Linked DNA regions of Homo sapiens: all the other regions are linked to region 1. The links are contacts of gene promoters, found by promoter capture Hi-C in blood cells and fetal thymus (Javierre and others, 2016). All regions are on one chromosome and are shown on one strand. The core of a region is centred on a gene start or on the middle of the fragment in contact, and the rest is flanking DNA. Distances in the headings are between cores, read along the strand shown.

Evidence for each region. Contacts are between HindIII fragments. The CHiCAGO score rates a contact against its expected background, and 5 or more counts as called.
Region 2: a fragment that was not itself captured here is called in contact with the fragment with the promoter of DNAJC2 in region 1 in 1 of 17 cell types (erythroblasts); the score reaches 5.9 in erythroblasts.
Region 3: a contact is called between a fragment that was not itself captured here and the fragment with the promoter of DNAJC2 in region 1, in 2 of 17 cell types (erythroblasts and megakaryocytes). The highest score is 8.9, in erythroblasts.

Annotation. Positions count from the first base shown.
Region 1 is chr7:103,342,184-103,346,109 of GRCh38, forward strand. It overlaps DNAJC2 (DnaJ heat shock protein family (Hsp40) member C2), which reads right to left and starts at 2,584. Exons shown (of 17, transcript NM_014377.3): 1 at 2,376-2,584. The coding sequence starts at 2,439. It also overlaps a transcript of PMPCB not described here. RefSeq lists an enhancer at 2,527-2,766. The HindIII fragment of the contact is 5,590 bases long and covers 1,999-3,926 here.
Region 2 is chr7:103,112,432-103,116,239 of GRCh38, forward strand. It overlaps NAPEPLD (N-acyl phosphatidylethanolamine phospholipase D), which reads right to left. Exons shown (of 5, transcript NM_001122838.3): 4 at 2,629-2,743. Among named protein-coding and RNA genes, the nearest start is that of NAPEPLD, 35 kb to the right of the region's middle. The HindIII fragment of the contact is 557 bases long and covers 1,824-2,380 here.
Region 3 is chr7:103,092,767-103,096,753 of GRCh38, forward strand. All of the region lies in intron 5 of ARMC10 (armadillo repeat containing 10), which reads left to right. Among named protein-coding and RNA genes, the nearest start is that of ARMC10, 20 kb to the left of the region's middle. The HindIII fragment of the contact is 4,149 bases long and covers 1-3,987 here.

The DNA of each region.
Region 1 (3,926 bases), core at 1,334-3,833:
AAAACAAAAAAAACTCAGTAATGTCAATGATAAATCAGTACTTTTTTGGGGATATGAGTAAGGTGAGGAACAGGAAGAAATGTTGCAAACTACTTTACTTTTAGACAAATTATTTATTTTTTTACTTTTTTTTTTTTTTGAGATGAAGTTTTGCTCTTACTGCCCAGGCTGGAATGCAATGGCGAGATCTCGGCTCAATGCCGTCTCCACCTCCCGGGTTCAAGTGATTCTTGTGCCTCAGCCTTCCAAGCAGCTGGGATTACAGGCATGCGCCACCATGCCCAGCTAATTTTGTATTTTTAGTAGAGATGGGGTTTCTCCATGTTGGTCAGCCTGGTCTCGAACTCCCGACCTCAGGTGATCTGCCTGCCTCGGCCTCCCAAAGTGTTGGCATTACAGGCGTGAGCCACTGCACCCACCTGGACAATTTTTTTTTTTTTTTTGGGACGGAGTCTTGCTCTGTCACCCAGGCTGGAGTGCAATGGCGCGATCTTGGCTCACTGAAAGCTCCGCCTCCCGGGTTCAAGCGATTCTCCTGCCTCAGCCTCCCGAGTAGCTGGGACTACAGGCACCCGCCACCACCCCCGGCTAATTTTTTGCATTTTTAGTAAAGACGGGGTTTCACCATATTAGCCAGGATGGTCTTGATCTCCTGACCTCGTGATCCACCCACCTCGGCCTGCCAAAATGCTGGGATTACAGGCGTGAGCCACCGCGCCCGGCCTAGACAAATAATTTTAATAAAGTAATAAATAGTGATAAATTGTCACGAAGAGCTAGCCTCACCAAAAATAAAAAATCTAAAAACAACTCAAACTATCTTTTTATTTTTTGAGACGGAGTTTTGCTCTTGTTGTCCAGGCTGTAGTGCAATAGCGCAATCTCGGCTCACTGCAACCTCCGCCTCCCGGGTTCAAACGATTCTTCTGCCTCAGCCTCCCAAGTTGCTGGGATTATAGGCGCCCGCCACCACGCCCAGCTACTTTTTTGTATTTTTAGTAGAGACAGGGTTTCACCCTGTTAGCCAGGCTGGTCTCGAACTGCTGACCTCAGGTGATCCACCTGCCTCGGCCTCCCAAAGTGCTGGGATTATAGACGTGAGCCACCGCACCCAGACAACTCAAACTGTCTTAATTATTAAAATCTTGAATATAGCTCTTAAAAATTTTAAGAATTCACTAACAAGAATTTGTCCTGAAAGCAATTTTCCAAGCAGCAAATGGGAATTTACTAATGCAGCTAAGCTGTAGTGGAACAAGCTCTCAATCTGAAACCAGACACTCTGGGTTTTAGACTAGGTCTGACAGTGGCTATGTGACCTGAAATGAATCAGGATGTCTTCACCTGTAAAATGGGAACAATACCTATTTATCTCATTCAGTTCCTAGGAAGCTTGAATGAGACCACAGAAACTCTCTGAAATTACAAACTTGTAGTAAAGGTATCATCTATTCCTGGGAAGTGGGGGTAAATCACTGTACATGTGTATACTAGCAATTCAAAAAAGGAAAATCCCTGAACAACTTATTTTAAGATTTCCTCCACCTTACACAGGAGAGGATTAAAACACTGTCAAAAAGGTACTACCTGTGTAGTATGGGTGTGTGGCTTTTAAGAACACTGCCTTTTAAGCCTTTTGCTCTAGTTGTAAGAGGCACACGGAGACACATAAATGCAACACGTGCCATGGGTTATGTTCAAAATCACATTCAACAAGCGCCTATGTGACTGGCTATGGGAATTACTGTAGATCACTGGACCTGAAGACTCTTAAGTTTACAATACTCATGACTGTCCTGGGCCATAAAACTAAAACCTACAGCAGCAGGACAAGTTTCACTTGTAATAACTGCCTTTCAAAGTCTACGCGGATCTTTTCAGCAGCACAGTCTTTGAACACCGAGTATGAGGAGCGGTGTCTGAGTTGTGACATTTAAAAAACAAGGCCGGAGCAAACGTAGAGAGGGAGAAAGTTGTTTAAGAGAGCGCCAGTAGCAAAGCTTTGTACGACCCCAGGCACGTGGGGTGCTCGCTGCGCGTAGTCTTTCCACCGTAGGCAAGGAGATGCTTATGAGAACCTTTCTGGGGTGCTGGGGGGTTCCGTCCCGAAATGCTCAGCCCAATCCATGAGTCAGCAGCGGCGAGAGGAGGAAGCAACGGTAGGAGCAAAAGGAAGGCACCCCTCACCCTCCTTCCTTCTAATCTAGGGTAGGATTACTTTAAAACACGGAGCAAAAAGGCACTCGTCACGGCCCCATACGGCCCCGGGGCTAGTCGCCAGGGTCAAGGGTAGAGAGAGCCCAGGGTTGCCGAGGCGGAGGACTGAGGCAGGGGCAGCTGAGGTGAGAAGGAACCGAGGTTGGGTGGGCACTTACCAGAGGTCAGAGCGTGGGTGATGGCGGTGCCCCGGCCGTCCGCGGCGCTTGGCAGAAGCAGCATGATGGCGCCGGGTCTAGCCCGGTGGGCGCAGCGGCTCACGTCCCGGGCGGAGGGCGCTTAGGGTCCCCTCCAGCTCTACCTCTCACTCCGAGCCTCGCGCCTTGGCTCTAAGACGCCCAGGAACCGGCGCATGGAGACGACCAGTAAGCACTTCCGGGATGGATCTTTCGTGGTGTGGAGGCCAGTCTCACACCCTCCCACCCCCGCCAACGTGTGCGGTAACCTAGTTCTATACTGACTGAGATCCGGCTGGAGACCAAGTCGCACGAGAGAATGGTTCCTAGGCGCATCAGTTTTCCTGTAAAAAGGATTATATTCCACGTCCCAGTGCAATACATAGAACATAACCTTTAAAAGCAGTTCTTTTTATATTATCTTTAAGTTCTTACTGCTTTATGTATTAATCTGAACCTAATCAGTGATTTTCCCAGGAGCGCTATACTTTTAAGTAAAAAATGAAAATACCTGTATGAACCAGTATCGACGACTAGTATATACATTTGCGGAGAATTACGTACGTGTATTTGTGATACATTTGTGTTTAACTTGATGATGATAATAGCAGCTAATATTTGTCGTGCTATTACTAATTTACCTGCATTATATCTTTTAATACTCGCTTGGAGAAGAAACCTCTCTCTAGTGTGTTAGATTGTATTCCAAGGCCAGCAATATTTTTACCTTGTTCTAATGAAGTTTTTATTCAAGATATTCCCAATTATAGGACTCTGGGACTTAATTTTTTAATGTATAATAAAATCAATTGTATTCCTACTATATGCTTCCTTCTAAGACTGCAGTCAAAAGCAAAAACTAGCAAAAACAAACAGTGGGTAAAGGCTCACCCCCAACAGCAGTATCTGAAACAGGTTCAATAAAATAAACTTGATATGCCACTCTTTAGCAAGGACCACCAGAAATTAGTAAATTAGAAAATAACTTACTAATTTCATTATATTTTCACAATTAAAGTTTTTAAATATATTATATATATATATATGTATATTTTTTTTTGTAGAGACAGGGTCTCACTATGTTGCCCAAGGTGGTCTTGAACTCCTGGCCTCAAGGGATCCTCCTGCCTCAGTCTCCCAAAACTCTGGGATTAGAGGCGTGAGTCACTGTGCCAGGCCAATTAAATACATTTAATTGGTCTGTATATCTGCTGCATGATAAAATTGTCACTTCAAAACTGACTTTTCAAAAATTGAACTAAGGGAGGCTGAGGTGGGAAGATCGTTGAGGCCGGGAGGTGGAGGTTGCAGTGAGCTGAGATCACACCATTGCGCTCCAGCCTGGGTAACAGTGAGACCCCGTCTTTAAAAAAAAAAAAATTGAACTAATCTTCTGCCCCAAAACCTCTTCCTGATCCCTACTAATGCAACCACTGTTAAAACATGCTCCAAGGTGCAAAGTAACCTGACTCCACTTTCTTCATATTAATATATTTTTTTCCTCACACCTCCTCCCATTCAATTTTACCATTA
Region 2 (3,808 bases), core at 852-3,351, 230 kb before region 1:
GATGAGTTCATGTCCTTTGCAGGGACATGGATGAAGCTGGAAACCATCATTCTCAGCAAACTAACACAAGAACAGAAAACCAAACACCGCATGTTCTCACTCATAAGTGGGAGTTGAACAATGAGAACACATGGACACAGAGAGGGGAACATCACACATTGGGGCCTGTCAGGGGGTGGGGGGCTACGGGAGGGATAGCATTAGGAGAAATACCTAATGTAGATGAAGGGTTGATGGGTGCAGCAAACCACCATGGCACGTGTATACCTATGTAACAAACCTGTATGTTCTGCACATGTATCCCAGAACTTAAAGTATAATAAAAAAAAAAAGAAGTAAAGGGTAACATATCCTCTCTGAAGATTATATCTGCTTTATAATTCAACTAACTCATAGTTATGAGGTTTATTCAACATCAAAACATGAACAAATTCCAAAATGCTGAAAGTCAAATGAGTTTTTATTAACATTCTCATTAAGAAATAAAGATGGCGGTTAGGTTTATAACAGGAATAATTCTTGAAGGCTGAATAACACAATAATTCTCAAAGACAGGATTTTTTAATCCTCTCTCATCTTCCCCATCTCAGTAAAGAGCACAACTGTCTAACCAGCTATTGAAGCTAAAAATCTAGGAGTCAACCTTGATTCCTTTCTTTGCATAGGTTTAATAAAATACCATTACTTCATCTAAGTCCCATATATATGGAATATACATAATGGAATATGTGCATACACGCACACATATATAGATGGAATAAGAAATTGTCACTGAAAACCAGTCTTAAACTTCTCCCTTCTCCAAATACGCACCCACACACCCACATTTATATTCTCATTTATCCTCCCCACAACCCTATGGTTAGTCATTATTCTATTCCTTCTCCCAACAGTGGCCAAGAATTGCTGCATTGTGGCTCAGGGTTGCTGCCTCATGGCACAGGAATTTTGATTAGGGAGTGGGGGAATGGGCAGGCAGTGTATTAGGTAATTTTGGAACACACTGCATCTTTGGGAGAGGGCAGGCCATAAGTGAGACAGAGGAGTAACTAAAACTGCAAGAAAACACTGAGTTCCTGCAGAGAGGCTCTGGGATGTGGAAGATGCCACAGAAAGTAAAGAAGCCAAGTCCTAACCACACTTTTTTTTTTTTTAAAGACAGAGTCTCACTTTTTTTTTTAAGACAGAGTCTCACTTTTTTTTTTTTTTTTTTTCTCAAGACAGAGTTTCGCTCTTTCACCCAGGCTGGAAGGAAGTGCCGTAATCTCGGCTCACTGCAACCTCTGTCTCCCAGGTTCAAGTTATTCTCCTGCCTCAGGCTCCCGAGTAGCTGGAATTATAGGCGCCTGCCACCACGCCCAGCTAATTTTATTAGAGATGGGTTTTCATCATGTTGGCCAGGCTGGTCTCGAACTCCTGACCTCAGGTGATCCACCCGCCTCAGACTCCCAAAGTGCTGGGATTACAGGTGTGAGCCACAGGTGCCCAGCCAAATCTCACTCTTTTGCCCAGGCTGGAGTATAGTGGCACAATCTCGACTTACTGCAACCTCTACTTCCTGGGTTCAGGCGATTCTCCTGCCTCAGCCTCCCGAGTAGCTGGGATTACAGGCACGCACCACCACGCCTGGCTATTTTGTATTTTTAGTAGAGACGGGGTTTCGCCATGTTGGCCAGGCTGGTCTCGAACTCCTGACCTCAAGTGATCCACCTGCCTCAGCCTCCCAAAGTGCTGGGATTACAGGTGTGAGCCACTGCACTGGGCCTAACCATACATTTCTAAGTTTTGTTTAGAGAAGACCTTGGATCCAGGAAAGGAGAGAAAGCTTTATACTATCCTCTGCTTGATCCCAGGACCCAGGCTAGTGGCAGAGTTCTAGGGTCCATCTGCCTTAAGGAAAAATTATCTCTTCTGTTTTAATCTAGGAATAAAATCACATTTATCCCTATGCCTGGCACATAGCAGACACCGAGTCAATGTTTACTGAATATATTTCTAGAAAGTTCCACACTAGCCTTACTTCTCCCTATTGCCCTCCACTCTCCTGCTGAACTGATTCAAGTACTCCCCACACTAGCTGCCTCCGAGCCTATGCTCTGCCCTTTCCTCCTCTGAAAATGCCTTCCTCCCTGCCCTCTCAGAGCCAAGTTCAAATGTCACTTATTCCATCACGCCCTCTCTGATCCCTGCCATCAGCAAACATCCTGATTCTGAGACCATCTCATCTGTTCCACATTACAGCACTTTCCCCTTCTAACATCTGTATCACATACATGACTTCTGTCTTCTGCTAGCATGAGAGCCTGCTTGAGGGGTGAGACATGATGGCTTGCTTTTCTAGTCTCCAGACCACATACAGATTTTTGGTTATACAAATACAAGCTTTACTAACTTCAGAAATAAGCCAAAAGAAAACACAATGAGGTTGTGTTGTTTTTTTTTTCTGACTGTATATGTGTGTATTGTTCTACTAATTAGTATGATTTACCACCCTAATTCATGCAGTGACTGTGATGACTGTGCAGTATCTGATTCCAGAGTCTTGGGTCTGAAAACTAAGGAACAGTGATGCCTGAATCCTATCATTGGTCAAACACACAAAGTTATTTTTATCGCAATCAAACTTACCTCATTTGCTAAGGCAAAAGTTCCCCAGTGAATTGCCATAGATTTCTTTGTTTGGACATCAGTGTGAATCCTTACAGCTTCTTCTGGGTCTACATGCTGGTATTTCATAAACCACCTGAAGAAACATGGCAATTTCTTAATTCTGACCTTTGAGATATACACTAAATTCTAAAATCTGTTTCACTTAACCAAACTTTAAGATTCTGCGCAGGACTATGGATGTTGAGAATTAAGAACCACTGGGATAAAACATGCAGTTTTGGGGAGGATGAGCTAGAAACCAAGTCTGAAGGCCAGGTCAAGGCTAGATTGTAAAAACAAAACAAATTCTGCACAGGAATTAAGTCACAGGAGGCAAAACCATCTCCCTTTGGTACACTTTCTGCTGAAAAATAAAACAAGCAAAAGTCTTTCTTGTACAAATTGCTATAAAATAAGTAAGTCTCAAGCAAACTCCCCTCTGAATAGTGAGATTTTTGTTTCACGTATATTTTGATTTTACTGGATCTATCTGAAGATACAACTTACTGATGATGCAGGGGAGGCGAGCCCCAAAATTGAGGCTTAGCCCAGGAGGGTTTTTGGCCTCACAAACGAAATATAATTCAACGGCAAGCCAGTGGTGCTGGCCAGCAATTTTTTTTAAACGATACTGCTCCTTGAGGAGCAGTGCTAAGTTATAGGCAGTAAGTGCACTCAGAGTTGGCAACATATGAGGGGTTGGTAACTGTATTTACACTCACTTATACCCACTTTTAATTATATGTAAATTAGGGAATGGGTTAATGCAAATTAAAGGGCAGATTATTTAGAACTTTCTAGGAATGGGGTGGTAACTTCTTGGTCATTGCCATGGAAAGGGGCAGTAACTTCTAGGTTGTTGCCATGGCCATTTATAAACTGTCATGGTGATGGTGGGAGAGTCTTAGGCTAATGAGCAATGAGGGCAGCTAGGGATCACTTCTGTCACCATCTGCTGGTTTTTGCCAGTTTTTTCTTTTTTTCTTTTTTTTTTTTTCTGAGATTGAGTCTCACTCTGTCGCCCAGGCTAGAGTGCAGTGCCGCGATCCCAGCTCACTGCAACCTCCGCCTCCTGGGTTCAAGTGATTCTTCTGCTTCAACCTCCTGGGTAGCTGGGACTATAGGCACGTACCACCTCTCCCGGCTAATTTTTTGTATT
Region 3 (3,987 bases), core at 733-3,232, 250 kb before region 1:
AAGAAAGTATATTATTTTTAGTCCCAAATATTCCATTGCAAAATTAACTTTTGAAAACCATCTGTTGTTTCACTTATCAACAGATTCCTGTTCATTTGGTTTTCTGAGAAGCTAGCTTCCCCCCACCAAATATAGGAACATTGTGATTAAAAGGAGTCTGAGTAATAGTAGTGGTTAGTTGAATATTTTGCTTACCTCAGGGTTAACAAATCATTTTTTTGATTCAGTTATTTGTTGAAAAATATTTCTAAAACAACTTTTAAGCTGTAGTAAATGAAGTGAATTGAATATATGAAAGATGTCTCAGTGCTTCACTCTGTCCAGTTAGGTTGATATAAGAGGCAACAGATATTGAGCTGAATTAAGTAGGACCTTAGGAGATGCCCTATAAAAAGTTTCTTAAGTAAATCTCTCATATTAGTGTGCATTCTTATCAATTGCCATTTTTCAAGAAAAAGTAGCATAAAAATAGATTGTAGGCTAATTAAAAGTTCTGATAAGTCGGGTTGATTGTTCATCAAGGCTTTTTACCATGTTAGTCTGTGTTCTCTGGAACAGTTGAGAGACAAATGCATAAGCATTTTAGAAAGACCAAATGTGAAGCCATACTCCAAATATTCAACATCACTGCAGTTATTTTTGAGTTTATCAAGATGTGATTACAGGAGAGTCTTACTGTAGTCCTGCTTTTATGTTTCCAAGGTGTTTGTACATGGACTTTCCTCTTTTCCAATAGCCAAACTTGTTTGGATGTGATCCAAGATGTACCAAAAGGTATTGAAAATTAAATGTAAGAGTAGTCTTCTAGCAATATTGCACCATTCCCAGGCAGTTTCCAACGTGCATCAGCATGTCTGTCTCCAGTGGAACAAGATAACTTCCAGCCCCTGAACCCCTGGGGAAACTCCTTCCCTCTTTACTGTATGTTGTTGCCACTGTAGGAGAAATCTCTCCTCTGCCTGACTCTGCAGCTGCTTTACCCAGAACCTCAGGAGGAACTCTGAGTCCAGAGCCAGGCTGAGTTCAGCCAGGCAAGTCTGGCCTTGGGGCTGTATATATCTGTCTCAGACATCGTCTGTGTTTTCATATATTTTTTGACTTTTTAAAAGATGACCCAGACCACAATAGTATGTTCTATTTTTGTTTTGTTGTGTTGTGTTTTTCCATTACATTGCTTAGTACAGTATTTCTAGGATAGAAAATTTGCTTTCTTGGTCTGCCTTGGAACATACCTACCAATTACAACATTGATTTTCCATAAAAATTGAGTTTAAAGTTCCAACTTGCAAATGAACTTTTGGATAGCCATCCATTTGTTAGTGGGAAAGTGTGTCTGATTTAGGTATTTTCTTAGTAAATAACCACTAAAATGAATGTTTAAATATCGTATTTTGCTTAAGTCAGGGATCTCACTGTACTGTAATAACCGTTTGGGTACACCACTGATTGATAACTTAATGCAGATAGTGGAGGATTAACATAAACTGTGTGCTTGTTACATCCTCAATGAAAACAAAACTAATGGTTTAAAATGTCCTAGTGTCACCACAAGATGGTGCATGTGACGAGGAAAAAAAACATGTCTTAATATGGTTTCAAACCAAAATCCATATATTTGTTTAATCTGTAGTTGTACTCTAACTGTATATATATTTTTTTCTCATATTTAACTCCCTTCTACAAAGAATAGCAACATCAGATTTTAATACAGGATACCAAATAGCTATTGCTGTTGCTATTCCCTGGTTGTATACCTGCCCTCATTGACTATTAGTGGGTCTTAGATTTTGACTTCATCCAGGCTTATTTCGTAAGTTCAGGACCATCCTATTTCATACCTCCTGTTCCTATTTTTCTAATTGAAACTTCATTGACATTGGAGCCAGGTGTTTTTTTCCTAACACTTATTCCTAGTGTTGCTGATAGTCAGTCAGGCCAGATGAGATCTGATAGTGACCTCCACGGAGTGCACTAAAGAAGGGTCAGAAGTCTCCTTTACTCTTTCAACCCCAGAGGCCTTAATTTATTAATAGCATCTCTTTGAAAAAGACAATCTCTGCATATTCAAGAAATGTTACCAGTGGACACTGCTGAGGATTGGAAGGGGCCAAAAGCATGGTGGCTTTTGTTTTTACCTTGTTCTCTTTTGCATTACTTAAAATTTTTATCATGACCAAGTAGTAATTTTCTAAAAATAAAGAAATATTTGATAAAAACAGTAAAATTAAGCAAAGTATTATGTCATCCTCAAATAAATTAGTATCTACAACATGATCAAAGAAATTGTGACTATACAGGATATTTGCATAAAAGACCAAAAAGAAAATACTAAAACTTTTCTTTCTCTTTTTTGACACAGAATCTCACTCTGTTGCCCAGGCTAGATTGCAGTGGCATGATCTCTGCTCACTGCAGCCTTGAGCTTCCAGGCTCAAACAATCCTCCTACCTCAGCCTCCCTGGGACTTTGGTCACATGCCACCACGCCTGGCTGATTTTTGTATTTTTGGTAGAGACGGGGTTTTGCCATGTTGCCCATGTTGCTCTTGAACTCCTGAGCTCAAGTGATCTGCCCACCTTGGCCTCCCAAAGTGCTGGGAATGCAGGCATGCGCCACCGCACCTGGCCAAAAATACCAACACTTAATCGTGATCATTTCTGGTTATGTAAATACGGGTAAATTTTCTTTTTCTTTGTGGTTTTCTATTTTTTTGAAAGTGCTATGGTAAACATCTGTTGCCTTTGTAATAAAAAATTTTTCTAAAATAATATCCAGGTTCCTTCCCAGCTCTAGTGAAGAGCACATTTGTCCCATTTCCCTGAGTTAGTACCCCCCTCTATGCTTATTTTAGTTCCAGGTATCTTGTAGAAAGTATGGTTTCACATGGCCTTTGTTTTTAAAAGACTTGGAACCAACCCGAATGTCCAACAATGATAGACTGGATTAAGAAAATGTGGCACATATACACCATGGAATACTATGCAGCCATAAAAAATGATGAGTTCATGTCCTTTGTAGGGACATGGACAAAATTGGAAATCATCATTCTCAGTAAACTATCGCAAGAACAAAAAACCAAACACTGTATATTCTCACTCATAGGTGGGAATTGAACAATGAGAACACATGGACACAGGAAGGGGAACATCACACTCTGGGGACTGTTGTGGGGTGGGGGGAGGGGGGAGGGATAGCATTGGGAGATATACCTAATGCTAGATGACGAGTTAGTGGGTGCAGTGCACCAGCATGGCACAAGTATACATATGTAACTAACCTGCACATTGTGCACATGTACCCTAAAACTTAAGAATAATAATTAATAAATTAAAAAGAGGCATTCTATTTGAGTCTTGTTATTACTGACTTTTCAGTTATAAGTGATAAGAATGCTGATATTTTAGCTAGTCACCCATTAGATAACATTTATTTGCTTATTATTTATATCATTGCTGGGCATGGTGGCTCATTGCCTGTAATCCTAGTTACTTTGGGAGGCCAAAGTGAGAGGATTGCTTGAGGCCAGGAGTTCAAGACCAGCTTCAGCAATATAGTGAGACCCCCATCTCAATCAATCAACCGATCTATCAGTTTTTATCACTGTGCTTATTTATATGATTGTAAAACACTTTCACATTAAAAGATAACCTCAAAAATTCATGGTAGCTTACCAAAAGGGGCCATATTGTTATTTATTTAGTCTTGGTAACCAAACAGTTCCAAAATTTTTACTGTTTAAGTAGAAATGAGCTGAGCTTTGAGAGATTTTTTTGTTGTTGTTTTAAAGATTATATTTCTTTATTTCTTTTTTGTCGGGGGTGAAGATGGGGTCTAAGGGTCTCACTATATTGCCCAGGCTGGAGTGCAGTGGCTGTTCACAGGCACAATCATAGCTTACTACATCCTTGAACTTGAACATCCTTGAGATGGGAAGGCTCAAGAGATCCTCCCCCGCTCAGCTTCCCAAGTACCTAGGACTACAGGCCG